Linked DNA regions of Homo sapiens: all the other regions are linked to region 2. Evidence: promoter capture Hi-C in 16 types of primary human blood cells and fetal thymus (Javierre and others, 2016). All regions are on one chromosome and are shown on one strand. The core of a region is centred on a gene start or on the middle of the fragment in contact, and the rest is flanking DNA. Distances in the headings are between cores, read along the strand shown. Region 1 overlaps FANCM (FA complementation group M). Region 2 holds the start of FKBP3 (FKBP prolyl isomerase 3). Region 3 overlaps TOGARAM1 (TOG array regulator of axonemal microtubules 1).

Evidence for each region. The method cuts DNA at HindIII sites, captures the fragments that hold promoters and counts their contacts. A CHiCAGO score of 5 or more calls a contact.
Region 1: a fragment that was not itself captured here is called in contact with the fragment with the promoter of FKBP3 in region 2 in 14 of 17 cell types (fetal thymus, monocytes, naive B cells and 11 more); the score reaches 11.7 in fetal thymus.
Region 3: a contact is called between a fragment that was not itself captured here and the fragment with the promoter of FKBP3 in region 2, in 6 of 17 cell types (activated CD4 T cells, total CD4 T cells, non-activated CD4 T cells and 3 more). The highest score is 10.1, in activated CD4 T cells.

Annotation. Positions count from the first base shown.
Region 1 is chr14:45,197,521-45,201,730 of GRCh38, reverse strand. It overlaps FANCM (FA complementation group M), which reads right to left. Exons shown (of 23, transcript NM_020937.4): 22 at 2,796-3,087; 23 at 841-1,861. The coding sequence ends at 1,723. Among named protein-coding and RNA genes, the nearest start is that of MIS18BP1, 54 kb to the left of the region's middle. RefSeq lists an enhancer at 2,805-3,324. The HindIII fragment of the contact is 1,579 bases long and covers 992-2,570 here.
Region 2 is chr14:45,133,094-45,137,842 of GRCh38, reverse strand. It overlaps FKBP3 (FKBP prolyl isomerase 3), which reads left to right and starts at 3,362. Exons shown (of 7, transcript NM_002013.4): 1 at 3,362-3,494. The coding sequence starts at 3,387. FANCM (FA complementation group M) reads right to left here and starts at 1,913. Exons shown (of 23, transcript NM_020937.4): 1 at 1,304-1,913; 2 at 602-774. The coding sequence starts at 1,811. RefSeq lists enhancers at 1,710-1,759, 2,422-3,292, 3,386-3,605, 3,293-4,164 and a silencer at 3,239-3,416. The HindIII fragment of the contact is 3,907 bases long and covers 765-4,671 here.
Region 3 is chr14:45,010,871-45,015,665 of GRCh38, reverse strand. TOGARAM1 (TOG array regulator of axonemal microtubules 1) reads right to left here. Exons shown (of 20, transcript NM_001308120.2): 7 at 3,591-3,691. Among named protein-coding and RNA genes, the nearest start is that of TOGARAM1, 51 kb to the right of the region's middle. The HindIII fragment of the contact is 9,107 bases long and covers 1-4,795 here.

The DNA of each region.
Region 1 (4,210 bases), core at 532-3,031, 65 kb before region 2:
TGCTTCTAGATTTGCCAGTCTAAACTTGAATAAGTCACTTGTTTCTGGGCATCACTTTTATCATTTGGTAAGAAAGGAAAGAGAAGTGATTTGAATTACATGAGCTCTGAAGTCCCCGCCAGATTTAAGGTGAGGAGAGCTCTGCAGTGAGGCTGGTTCAACTACCCAACAATGTAATAGGGGTAAAAATGAGGCCGAGAATAAAGGACTCACATAATTCAAGGCTGCTTTAGTACTAGACTGACTAGAAGAAAGATGTCATATATATTGCAGATACAAGAAAAGCCTTCTTTTTTGGTTTGTGTTTGTTTTTGTTTGTTTTTGAGATAGAGTCTGGCTCTATCGCCCAGGCTGGAGTGCAGTGGCACGATCTCAGCTCACTGGAAGCTCCGCCTCCCGGGTTCACGCCATGCTCCTGCCTCAGCCTCCTGAGTAGCTGGGACTACAGGTGTCTGCCACCATGCCCGGCTAATTTTTTTATATTTTTAGTAGAGACGGGATGGGGTTTCACCGTGTTAGCCAGGATGTTCTTGATCTCCTGACTTCGTGATCCGCCCCCCTCGGCCTCCCCAAGTGCTGGGATTACAGGCGTGAGCCACCGCGCCCGGCCCCAAGCAGAGCCTTCTTAATGCCATCACAGACAACAGAATGGATCAAAACGGTAAATATAATAGGGTCAACATAATGGGCCTGCATTCAGTAATTTATATTAAAAAGAAACTTTCTAAGTCCAAACCAATATACCATTTTGAATATATTTCAGCAACAAAAAAGAGTAATGTAGCTGGGAGTTTGTATTAGTCCATTCTCACGCTGCTATGAAGAAATAACCCGACTGGGTAATTTATAAGGAAAAGATGTTTAATTGACTCACAGTCCTGCATGGCTGGGGAGGCCTCGGGAACTTACAATCATGGTGGAGGGGAAGCAAACGTTTCCTTTTCCACATGGCAGTAGGCAAGAGAACTGCAGAGTGAACAGAGGAAAAGCTTATAAAACCATCAGATCCTCTGAGAACTATCACTAGAACAGCATGGGGGAACCGCCCCCATGAGCTAATCACGTTCCAGGAGGTCCCTCCCCAATATATTGGGATTATAATTCAGATTACAAGTCAAGATGAGATTTTGGTTGGGGACACAGCCAAACCATATCAGAGTTCATATTAATAGATTTGACAGTACTTAACTGGGACACACCTTTGGTCAGATAAACATTCAGTTAAGTTTTCTACTTTCCTAGTTACTGGGTCATTTATCTCACAACCCACCCATCACCCACACCTTACCAAGTACATGTATTTAGAATCAGTACACTTAAAAGTATACTATCTACACATAGGGAAAATCGACAAGTTGGCTGTAGTCATAGACATGTCAACTTTACTATTTATCACAACAGTACAACTTTAATTTTGGGAAACATTCCAAAGTATATCTCTAGCTTAGCTTTTACTTTCTTAAACTATCCTTAGTAACACTTTTAATAAACCTTGTTTTATTTAATAAGAAAAATTAGTTTTATAATCTAGTCAAAATGATCACTGAACATCAGATTTTTCTTTTTTAATAATTTCTATAATCTATAAATAAAAATGTATACAATATAAAATATTTAAATAAAATATTCTCTTATTTACAAATAAACATAAAACAGCAATGATTATTGAAGTGCATTTAATATTGTGAGAGGTCTTTGAAAACCCCATCTTGAGCAGCTTGATTATATATCAGATTTCAGTCTATCTTGGTTAAGATCATTTGGTAACATTTGTATGTCAAATACATAGTGAATATATCTATAGATCTCCTCAGCCTTCTGATGAGTTACTTGTGCATACATGGAGATTTCTTGAAGTGAGCTGAAAAATAAATGAGACAAAATCATTACACTAGGACTTTTGGCTTTTATAAAATTTAATATTACCTAAAGAACACCAAACACAGTAGCCTTTAAGGAAATCATCTCAAGCATTATCCGCCCAGCTGATATGTCTTGAACATTAGTTTGGATAAAAGAGCTACTTGTTTCCTTTCCTTAAAATTATCTAGAATAACAATTTCAACATCTTCAATGAACTGAATGTTTTTGTGTTGCCCAAAATTCATATGTTGAAGCCGTAATCCCAATGTGATGGTATTTGGAAGTGGCAACTTTGAGAATTAGTTGATAAAGGTGGATATCCTTGTGCACTTTTAAGAAGAGGTCAAAGAGCTAGCTAGCTCTATTTCTGCCATGTGAGGATACAATGAGAAGGCAGTAGTCTGTGACTCAGTAGAAAGCTCTCTCCAGAACCCAGCCATGATCTCAGACTTCCAGTATCCAGAACTGGCAGAAATAAATTTGTGTTGTTTGTGTATTTTATCATTGCAGCATGAGCTAAGACAGTATCTGATGTAGGCCTTTAATTAAAATGAACTACATTCTAAAATCTCCCTCTTCAAGCAATATAATGATCACAACTAGTAAAATACTCATTTTTCTTGTTACAGAACTGAACAGCCCAGAAATGTTAGATTGCAAGGTCAAAGGAAACTGCTATTTATTGTCTCTCCACAGAGCTCTAAGCTTCTCAAAGGAAATCCCTACACCTATTTTTTCTTTTTTCTTTTTTTCGAATAATGTCCCTTAGCTTCATACAGTAACTAATATATGTTGGCAGGCAAAAAATGTTTACTGAATAAAATAATCTAACAGGCATGATGCCGCTTAAATTTTTTTAACATTAAACTTCTATGGAATGCTTTTACGAATCTTTTAAAAGTAATCATTTAAAAATATTACAACAGACATACCTGTTAGCCATCCTTTTCACAGATGAAAACTGGTGACACATATTTAATGCAGTTATATAACTTATATTGGGAATACTTAAATAAAACTGGAGTGCCTCACTTTTATTACTATTCACCACTGTTGGAACATGAATACCAACATTCTTTCTTTGTTCCACTAAAGACAGTTCCTTTAGCAAATCTGCGGTTTCTTCTTGGCAGGAACTGAAAAGAATTCGGATTCCAGCGCCAATTAAGGTAGTCAGCAGGCTGTCATAGCTCTTTGTTCTCCTAAACATCCTTGATGTGTCTCCTAAATATTCATATTTAGGGAAAGGCAAACTTCAGTAACTAATATTAAGTAGAATTATTAATATACTTTATTTTATTAAAATCCCAAGATCTACACCATTGAGCAAACTGGTGCCACATTCTGCTAATGAGAAACCCTACAACTAATGTTTCTCAAATATCTGAGAAAGAAAATAGGGGTAACTATGAGCGCCTTGAGCTGGAATCAACGTAGAAAGGTGAATAAGGAAGAGCTTATATTCCTAGATAATTCACTCCTGAAGGCCAAGACTGTATTACTCATCTCTAGTTTTTCATGCTAGCTCTGATGAAGGGTGCATTAAGTACTGGTTTAATATAAAATTATCTTAGGTATTTATTCCAAAGAATAACTCAACAAATACCCTGTACACCCATTTTAACATCATCTTGCCAATTACTTCCCTACCCTTTCTTGTTCATTTTCTATTCCATATTCTACTTAAATCCTTTTATTGGTATTCCCTATTATGGCCCCCGATACTTTTCTATAACCTTTGCCATGTTACCTTCCTGTCTATTCCAAATCTATTTCCTTTATCCCTGACTTTTCAAATTAAAAAGAAGGCTGGTGGCTCAAACATGTAATCCCAGCACTTTGGGAGGCTGAGGCAGGAAGATAACGAGGTCAAGAAATCGAGACCATCCTGGCCAACATGGTGAAACCTCGTCTCTACAAAAAATATAAAAAAAAAATTAGCTGAGCATGGTGGCACGCACCTGTAGTCTCAGCTACTCAGAAGACTGAGGCAGGAGAATCACTTGAACACAGGAGGCGGAGGTTGCAGTGAGCCGAGATTGCGCCACTGCACTCCAGCCTGGGCGACAGAGCAAGACTCCATTTCAAAAAAAAAAAAAAGAAGGCTGGGCATGGTGGCTCATGCCTGTAATCCCAGCACTTTGGAAGGCTGAGGCAGGCAGATCACCTGAGGTCAAGAGTTCAAGACCAGCCTGACCAACATGGTGAAACACCATCTCTACTAAAAATACAAAAATTAGCTGGGCATGGTGGCACATGCCTGTAATCCCAGCTACTCAGGAAGCTGAGGCAGGAGAATTGCTTGAACCCGGGAGGTGGAGGTTGCAGTGAGCCGAGATCATGCCAC
Region 2 (4,749 bases), core at 2,113-4,612:
TTCAAACTATTAAGCATAAAATATTAATGACCTGGACCTTGAGTAGAAGAGGCAAAATCCCCCTTAGGAGAAGAGGGAAACAGAAAGTCAACTTCATTCAGTGCAAAGATATGAATGATGTTTGCAACCACATCCCACTACTTCATCTTATTTTATATTCCTGGAGTACTCAACTGGAAGGCACTGTGTTAGGTATGTGGCATACATTATGTCATTATTTTACCTAGCCGCCAAGAAGAGACACCGCATATCCACTACCAATCTTTATTAATTTCAAAACTCCTTTCATACCCTATTTTAGATCACTGTCCCAACCATGACTAGGCTCTCATGATCTACATCTGACACTAATTATCTGGTTAGTCTTAAAATAGAAGAAAAGAAAAAGAAAACAACAATAACAGCAAAAGGCAGTGAAGACACTGATTTGAATGGATGACAGAAAGTACAGATATTCTTTATCACCATCTGTTCTGAGATAATAGACGTAAAGGCTTTTTATAATAATATTGTCAATAACTTCCATCACTAGTAACTATTCGCCAAAATTCTCTTTAACAGTACAGTTACAATACAAAATACCGTTTAACAAAATTATTACCTGGCAATAAGCATAGTTTCCGAGAGCTTTATGAGCTTCATCAATAACTAAACACTTTATTTCAGCAGCGGGACAAGCTCCTCTAGAAAGGTCATTTACCATGACCTGAGGTGTAAGAAAAAGCACTCTCTTACTGCACCATATTTCCTTCCTGGTGGAAGCTTGTGTAGACCCTGAAAATAAAAGTGACATTCTACATTCTAAACTTCAGACTGTTATCTATAAAATATAAATAGTCTGGCTTTTTCAGAATGCAAACATGCTTTGGTAACATTAAGAGAAAAACAATTTGACAATTCATCGGAATGCTACATTTTAAAGTTCTGGTGTGGTCCAAATATCAAAGCTGGCACTTATCTAGGACTACAACCAAATTGTCTTTAGAAAATTCCTACAAAATGGCATATTTGAAGAGAGGCAAATTCTTCAACTGAGAAATCTTTTTCAGGAAGAATGCCAGGAAATATCATGTTCAGTTACCCATGGGGTATACGCACATAATAGCTTCAAAATACTATGACAAGCTGCAGATATTCTCTGAAGATTGAATAAAGCAACCCTATTCATCAGTTTTGGGCTTGCTGCAAGTAGAGAATGTTTTAAGAGGGAGGGCGTAAGATGCACATGTTGTAGCTTGGGAACTATTCCACATGGGTCAGGAATTCCCAGCTCTTACTTCAAAATTAGTCCAGTCTAAGATACCTGTCATTTCGGCCATGTGGGATTGCGGGATACCCATCACCTGGTAGCAAGCCTCGATCTGCTGTGTCACCAAGGGTTTCGTTGGGGCCATGAAGACCACCTTTCCTGAAGGGAACCAGCGGTAGAAATTGTACATGACCACGGCGGCAATAAAGGTCTTTCCCAGTCCGGTAGGCAGACACACCAGCGTATTGCAAAACAGAGCAGCCCGGGAAATGTGCAGCTGGTAGTCCCGCACTGGGCAATTGGTAGGGTAAATCCACAGGGCGCCCGCGGAGGTGCAGAACCCGCCATTCTCTAGACACAACTGCCGCTCAGCCTCGTACGCCGCGACAAGCAACACATCATCGTCCGACTCCAGCTGAGCCTCCGCTGCTGCTGGCAAAGGCGCCTTGGAGCTGCCAGGGCTCTGAGGTCGCTCAGTTCCGGAGCTGCAACCCGGAGTCCCAGATGATCGGGAGATACTTGAGCCCCACGTCTGAAAAAGCGTTCTTTGCCGTCCGCTCATTAGGCCGACAACCACCGAAGGCTTCTGTCAGATATCCGTAGCAGCAGCAGCTCAACCGCTACGGTTCCGATCCCCATCGGTTTCCTTCGCACAAAACTCTGGAACGAGAAGGCGGGACTAAGGCCAGTTTATCCAGTTGAAAATGCCGCTACTGAGTTTCCGTTGGGAATGATTGGCTGGCTTCCCGGAAACCTTCACAGCCCTGCCGGAGACTCATGCGCATTATTAAGGCGTTACTCTAAATATGGTCCCCGGTGCGGTTCCGGTGTTTTGTTTTAACAAACTCTAAATTTAAGTTCCGTTTCCAATGATTAGATGGCTGGGCGTCATTGCTAACGTGATAAATCACTTAAAATGTTATAATAGAGATTTATTGTAAAATATTACATACCCGGGGACAATGGAATAGCCACCAGTTTGGGAACTTAATGTTATTGAGCGTCTAACGTGCCTCATTCCTTGTACTTTTAAATCAGAATATAAAGTGAAAAGCAAAAATGTGTAGATGGAATAATTTGTCTTATATCTCTATCTGGGCTGAGAAAACAAAATGCCAAGTCTCTTTTTCACCGCGCTGGGAGTGGCAACCCATTATTTTAATATTTTCATTGTTTAAAGGGAAGTGAACGTGGTCTGGTCCAGCTATTCGTCAGAATTTTTTTTTTTAATGCTCCTTGCAAAGCAGAGCTAACTCATAGGCAACATGCCCAGAGTCAGCCTACATTTTTTTAAGTAAGGAGTCCTGATGTTCAACTATTAAATCTTTATTATAGGTAAGAGCATTATAATAAACGTCGGTGTGCAATTATTCCACTCTAACGAAGATTTCTGTCTCAAATAATTCCTGACTTCTCTCTAAACCTGACTTTGAGTAACCTCTGTAAATTTGTTTCCTCGTGTACTGAGAAAAAAATATACATCACAGAGTTACGAGCATTAATAATGTCATTCTCATCAGCAAGTGGCATCCTGAGTGCGGCTTCTTTATAAATTGTTTTATTTGTTAAAGTTTCTGAACTTCGTTTTGGACAAACTTTCTCGTATTTGTATGGGGGGAAGGGGATGGGCAGTTTGTATTTAAGTTTCGGTTGTGTGATCTTTAAAAGGGAAATGGTGGGATATGGGTTTTCGGATCGACAAGGACTGAAGCACTTCAGGTGTGACTTTTTAGGCTAGAACTAGATAAAACGAGATAAGGAGCCTGAATGCTGTTTTCTTTTAACAGGTTATAGACTGGACTTTAAAGGCATAGCTGCCTTAAATGTGGGTAATGGTTGATAAATGTCGCTACCATCAGAGGTCGCTTCACAAGGTGTCTAATTCAGAATCGAAGATCTCTAGCGGTCTTCTACTCAGTCGACTGCAGAGACGACCGCGGTAGGTTTTTCAACCCGGACTCAACAAAGAAGCCCTCATAGCACAGCCTTGACGTCACTCAAAGACAGGCCCCAATCCCGACTGCTAGAGCAGAGGCCCGCCCCTCGACCTCCGTGAGTGGCCCCGCCCCGCCCTAGGGGGCGGGGCGATGCCGAACTGCGGCGGGCTGGCTCAGTAAAGCGGAGGCAGCGGGGGAAGATGGCGGCGGCCGTTCCACAGCGGGCGTGGACCGTGGAGCAGCTGCGCAGTGAGCAGCTGCCCAAGAAGGACATTATCAAGTTTCTGCAGGAACACGGTTCAGATTCGGTACCAGAGGCGTAGGGGCGGCCGGGCTGGTGCGGCTGAGGGACGCCTCACCCCCCTGGAGATGCCCATACATTCCGTATTCCTCTGTGCCCCCGCCCTCGTCTTCCCGCGGCCGGTGGCCTGGAAGGCCGGAGAGGCCCAGCTTGTGCTTTGGTGCCTCGCTCCCGCCTCTCGGGCGTTCTCTACTGGGGCAGGGGAGCAGCTTTATTTCTTGGGGCACACAGGCTGCAATTGTAGAGTTAGAACCTCATTGGGATCCTTGAGTGGGGGTGGAGGCCAGAAAAATAGGAACCCGAGGATATTGGGGGCTAGGGCGGAGAGGCCGAGGAATAGTGGTGTGGATGAGACTCCTGGGAGCGGGGCGCCGGCTACTAGGGAAATGGGAAGGGATGTGAAGATTTCTGTGGGAACGGTGTATCCAACTTGCTTTTCTCAACAGTTTACTAAATACTGAACATTAATGCGTGTGATTTTTAAAAAATCCGTAGGTTGTGGTTTAAGTTTTGATTTAACATATCGACCCTTTAAATGACCTTTTCACCTTTATACTTTAAGGGAGCTACATGCACATTTCTCTTGTGCAGTGGTCTGTCATTGTTATAAACAGACTAAGAAATTTATTTGAAATGCTTTATACTGTAGGCTCTCCATTTGTCAGCATAGTCTCCATCTTAACCATCCGTCTATAGTCAAGTTATTTTTGTTACACTTGTTTTTCCTTTGGAAAATAAGTTCATTCATGCACCTGTTAAATTGCTGAAATAGTTGTGCACGCAGCATTCTCTTACAAGCGGCAGCCTGCTTGTGTTTTCTATACAATTTTTAAAATTCTAAACTTTTCATTTAGAAAAACTGTTTCTGGGTTTTTTTGTTTGTTTGTTTGAGACGGAGTCTCTCTCTGTTGCCCAGGCTGGAGTGCAGTGGCGCGATCTCGGCTCACTGCAACCTCCGCCTCCCGGGTTCAAACGATTCTCCTGCCTCTGCCTCTCGAGTAGCTAGGACTACAGGCGCGTGCCACCACGCCAGGTTAATTTTTTGTATTTTTAATAGAGACGGGATTTCACCGTGTTAGTCAGGATGGTCTCGATCTCCTGACCTCGTGATCCGCCCGCCTCGGCCTCCCAAAGTGCTGGGATTACAGGCGTGAGCCACTATTTCTGGGTTATTTTGAGAAGCTTATATTTTATTTTCATTTTGGGCGGGCGTCATGACAGGGAGATAGAAGAACTCTCCAACTTCCAGTGCCTTCTTCCTT
Region 3 (4,795 bases), core at 1,397-3,896, 120 kb after region 2:
AAAATGCATATAAAGGGCTCCGCACAGTGCCTAACACATTTTAAGTACCCAAATGTTATTATATCCGTAATTTAAAAAAAAAAAAAAGCAAAACCCTAATGTAGGTCTCCTTCTAATGAATAACAAAAATTTTAATTTACATTTGAATGTTTAAACTCATCACTCTTTATGAATACTCTGCAGCTATTACAACCATAAAACATATACTAAATGCAAAATCTAGGCATTATATATTTGAGTCATTGTCCATTTTTATATATACTTCCAATGTAAACTATTAAGCAATAATGATGTGTGTATATATGTATAAATATATTTATTTATTTATTTATTTATTTATTTATTTATTTATTTATTTTTTGAGATAGGCTCTTGCTCTGTCATCCAGGCTGGAATACATTGGCACTATCTTGGCTCTCTGCAGCTTCAACCTCCTGGGCTCTCCTGATTCTCCTGCCTCAGCCTCCTGAATAGCTGGGACTACAGGCGCACGCCACCATTCTCCGCTACTTTTTAATTTTTTTGATAGAGATTAGGTTTTGCTATGTTGCTCAGGCTGGTCCCAAACTCTCGGGCTCAAGTGATTCACCTGCCTCAGCCTCCCAAAGTGCTGGGATTAGAGGTGTGAGCCACTGTGCCCAGTGAAATAGACTTTTAAAAAATAATGTTGTATTTGAATAAAAACAGGAAGGTAGGAAGAGGAGGTAGCTGGGGCAACAAGCTAGAAAGGACTGTAGAATAAAGGGCACTAAGTAAGTTCACAGAGAAAAGTTTCAAGAATATCCAATATTAAATCATAGAGAATTTGTAGAAAACACAGATTATCTTTATAAATTCTGTCTTGATAGTTAATTCATAAAATAAGACTCATAAACATACTGGCTTTGGGTGGAAATGTTTTCTATTAATAGGCAACACTAATCTAATATACTAGAAGAAGTTTACTGTAATATCATTCAGAAAATTTAGCACAATTTGCTTTAATAGGTAGTGGCAGAACATAGGTGGAATTTTAAAATAATTGTTATTTTTGTGTTTATCATCCAATAGTCTTTATTCTGAGCGTTATCATTTTTATGTTTTACCAATTAAGCCACAATAAATTTGTAGGAATCACTTGTTTACTGAAAACAAAGCAAACCCAAATATATAAAATCCGAAACATTAGCAACTTATTTTGAGAAAAGGTTAAATTTAATATAATGAATTCAATAATAGTAGTATTTCTAAAACTTGATCCTAGAAATACCTAATTTACTTATTAAAAATACAGATTTCTAACCAGAAAGATGAATTCATGAGGCATGAGATGAGGCCCCAGAATTAACAGATGTTACATGCACTCAAGGGTGATTCCTAAAATTAGGCAACTTTGTTGGGAGGCCGAGGTGGGTGGATCATGACCATCCTGGCTAACATGGTGAAATCCTGTCTCTACTAAAAACACAAAAAATTAGCCAGGCGTAGTGGCAGGCGCCTGTAGTCCCAGCTACCTGGGAGGCTGAGGAAGGAAAATGGCATGAACCTGGGAGGCGGAGCTTGCAGTGAGCTGAGATTACGCCACTGCACTCTAGCCTCAGCGACAGAGCGAGACTCTTGTCTCAAAAAAAAAAAAAAAAAAAGATTACGCAACTTTGGAAAACACTAAATATTGCATATATAAGTATGTATTATACTATTATGAGATCACTCTGCTAAAACTTAAATGACTCCCAAGGTCACACGACTAGGGTCACAAGGGAACTCAAATCCAGGTTTTTAAAATCTATTATTTTCCATTTCCAAAGATACTCTTCCAAAAGTGGGTTCCATTTTTACAAAGTAGATACAATCTAGTAATCAGATGTCTCTTCAATTTTACAGAAATACTTGAAAAATTATAGATTAGGATGATCAGCCTGAAAAAGGATTAAGGATAAGTTTATGTATTTCTTTGGGTCACTCTCTCCCCTTAGAGGACAAATACATATTGAGTGCCTACTATGCACTAGTTGCTTTATATATGTCATGAACTTAGATTTTCACTACCCTTCTCAAGGTTTATGTTGTCAGATGAGGGAACTAAGTTCCAAAGCAGTTAAGTAAGTTGTGTAATGTATGAATACTATTATTAAACATCAAACTGGGGTGTCAGCTCATCTTTTGGACTCCAAAGCACTTATATACTGTCTTTGTATGCCTAGAAGTGCAGCTATCTCTTTGTTAACACTAGTTTTATGCAAGGCAGTATACTAAACACACCTGGTTAAGTCACACATTCCCGATTATGATAAGCCTTGATAGGTAATCAGTGGGAAATAATCTTTGGGGATCAAGAATCTGAGAGTTAAAGAAAAGTAAAGCAATTGTAGTATCATTATAAAAGGTGTCAGTGCAAGATGTAATGGTATAACAAAAGAGGTAATAATCTTGTTTGTGAATTAAGGAAGGCTTCCCAGAGAAAGCAACTGAGCTCTTTTCACAGCTAAATAGGGTGTGGTATGGATTCTAGATTTCATCCAGAAAAAACAGTATGTGCATTTGCAAAGAGATAGGAAATGGTACTGATGGTGGTCTGATTTAACTGGATACAAACAGGGAAAGTACAAGATACAAAGAGGGCAGTGAAAAATGAGGCTGGAGAGGTAGGCTGGGACCAGATCATGAAAGCATGTCCAGAATGAATTCAGGCTGGCCAGTATAGTCAGATTTGCACTGTGGGGAACAGTTTCAAAGTAAGTGAGATTGAAGCAGGGAGAAAATTTAGGCGGCTAAGTAGGTAATAAATGAGGAAAAGTGTGAACTAAAGCCATGGTAGTGGGGATTACAAAGAGGGGTTGAGATTAAGACACATTTAAGAGCAAGAAATTTAAAATCTTAGCAAATAATCAAATACATATACAGTTTTTTAGGAAGGTGATTATAATATAAAGCAGCTTAAAGTTGTTAGGACTTTTACATTAGATCATGTGAAACTAAACATCATATACCAATTTGTTACAGTTTATTCACAATTCAACGTAGTTTTACTAATCATAATGAAGAATCACATGCAGTTCTCACCCTAAATAGATCATAGTGCAAATCTTTTTCTAATTGACTACTAATTACTAAATCTATTTTCTGAGAAGTGATGTTATAAAACTAAAGACTTACAGGTTAGTTCACAAAAATTCTTAACACAAGATACACATGAATTTAACTACTATTAACAGTTAATATTGTTTTTAAAGAAAATTGTCTTTCGGGATGTCCAGTGGTTCCCAAACTATGCTGCACATTAGAATCATCTGAGGAGTTTTCAAAATTCTGACAGCCAACACCAGCTAAATAACACTCCACACCAACTACATAAAAAATCTAGGTGTAGGAGCCAGCCATAGGTATGCCAATTGAGCTTTAAAAGAGATTGATGATTCAGGTAAATAAATATTTTTTTCTTCCAAAACAATATCATATTCCTGTCAAAAGGACCTTTTAAGGAGTAAAAAAATGATTAGTCTTAACCAGTATGCACAACAACATGAAATCTGAAATGCACTTGCTATCATTTTTTACATCATTTGAAAATCATATTTTATAAATTATTTTTATAAACAGACATAGAATACCTGCACTGGGGCTTTGTTCAGCAATATGAGAAATTTTTTTCTTTGCAGAAGAAAGTCTTGTTGGACAAGGTTTTGACCCAAATGTTGGAAATATGTCTGACCTGCAATGAAACAAAGTAATTTCAATAAACATTAAGATTTAGTGCTGTTCAATACTCACATCACATATTGTCTATTCTCCTTATTAACTCACAGACCTTTTAGATAATAAGGGAGCAATAAGTATGACACTTGAAAAACTATGGCTAACAGTGTGTGTGTATACACACACACACACACACACACACACATATATATTTTGCTATTCTTAGTTCACCTTTTGGACTACCAACCTTTTTAACATATGGCCAATTCTTAATTACTCAAGACAGGATTGCCACAGAAAATGACTCTGACTTATACTGTATAATCCCTAAGGAAAAAAAAAAATGATCCAAGAATCCATTCTAAAACCAAATCAAGGCCAAGTGTGGTGACTCATGCCTGTAATCCTAGCATTTTGGGAGGCCAAGACAGGAGGATCACTTGAGCCCAGGAAGTTCAAGGCCAGCCTGGGCACCATCGCAAAACTCCATCTCTACAAAAAAACTAAAAAATTAACCAGGCATGGCGGTGCACACCTGTAGTCCCAGCTACTACAGAGGCCGAGGTGGGAGGATCACCTGAGCCCAGGAGGCAGGGGTTGCAGTGAGCTGAGATTGAACTACTACACTCCAGCCTGAGTGACACAGTGAGACCTTGTCTCAAAAAAATGAAAATAAATATAACAAGTCAAATCATTCTTAATTATCTAACTACTACCTATCCTTATATATGATAACACAAAAATACAGACTTGGCTATATTATAAGTAAGAGATCAGCAATGAGTAAGTTTGGTAAATGCCACTTTCTGCTTAGACTATTCTTTCCTGTACTTTCCTGACATTATAAATACCTATAGGCCTTTTTTCATTAAGAAAGCCAACTGAAGAATGTTAAATCTGAGCTTAAGGGAACTGTTTTAAATCAGTAAGTGTTACAATGTCAGTAAGTTAGTAATGAATATTAAAAAGAATAGATTTTACAAAGAAGTACAATTCTCAGTAAATGGAGAGAAATATATTTGTCAGTGGACCTAGTGAGAAATCAGTGTTAAATATTTTGAAAGAGCAATTTCTCTATAACAGATTATTATGAATCTACATTTATATTAAGTGTAGTTGA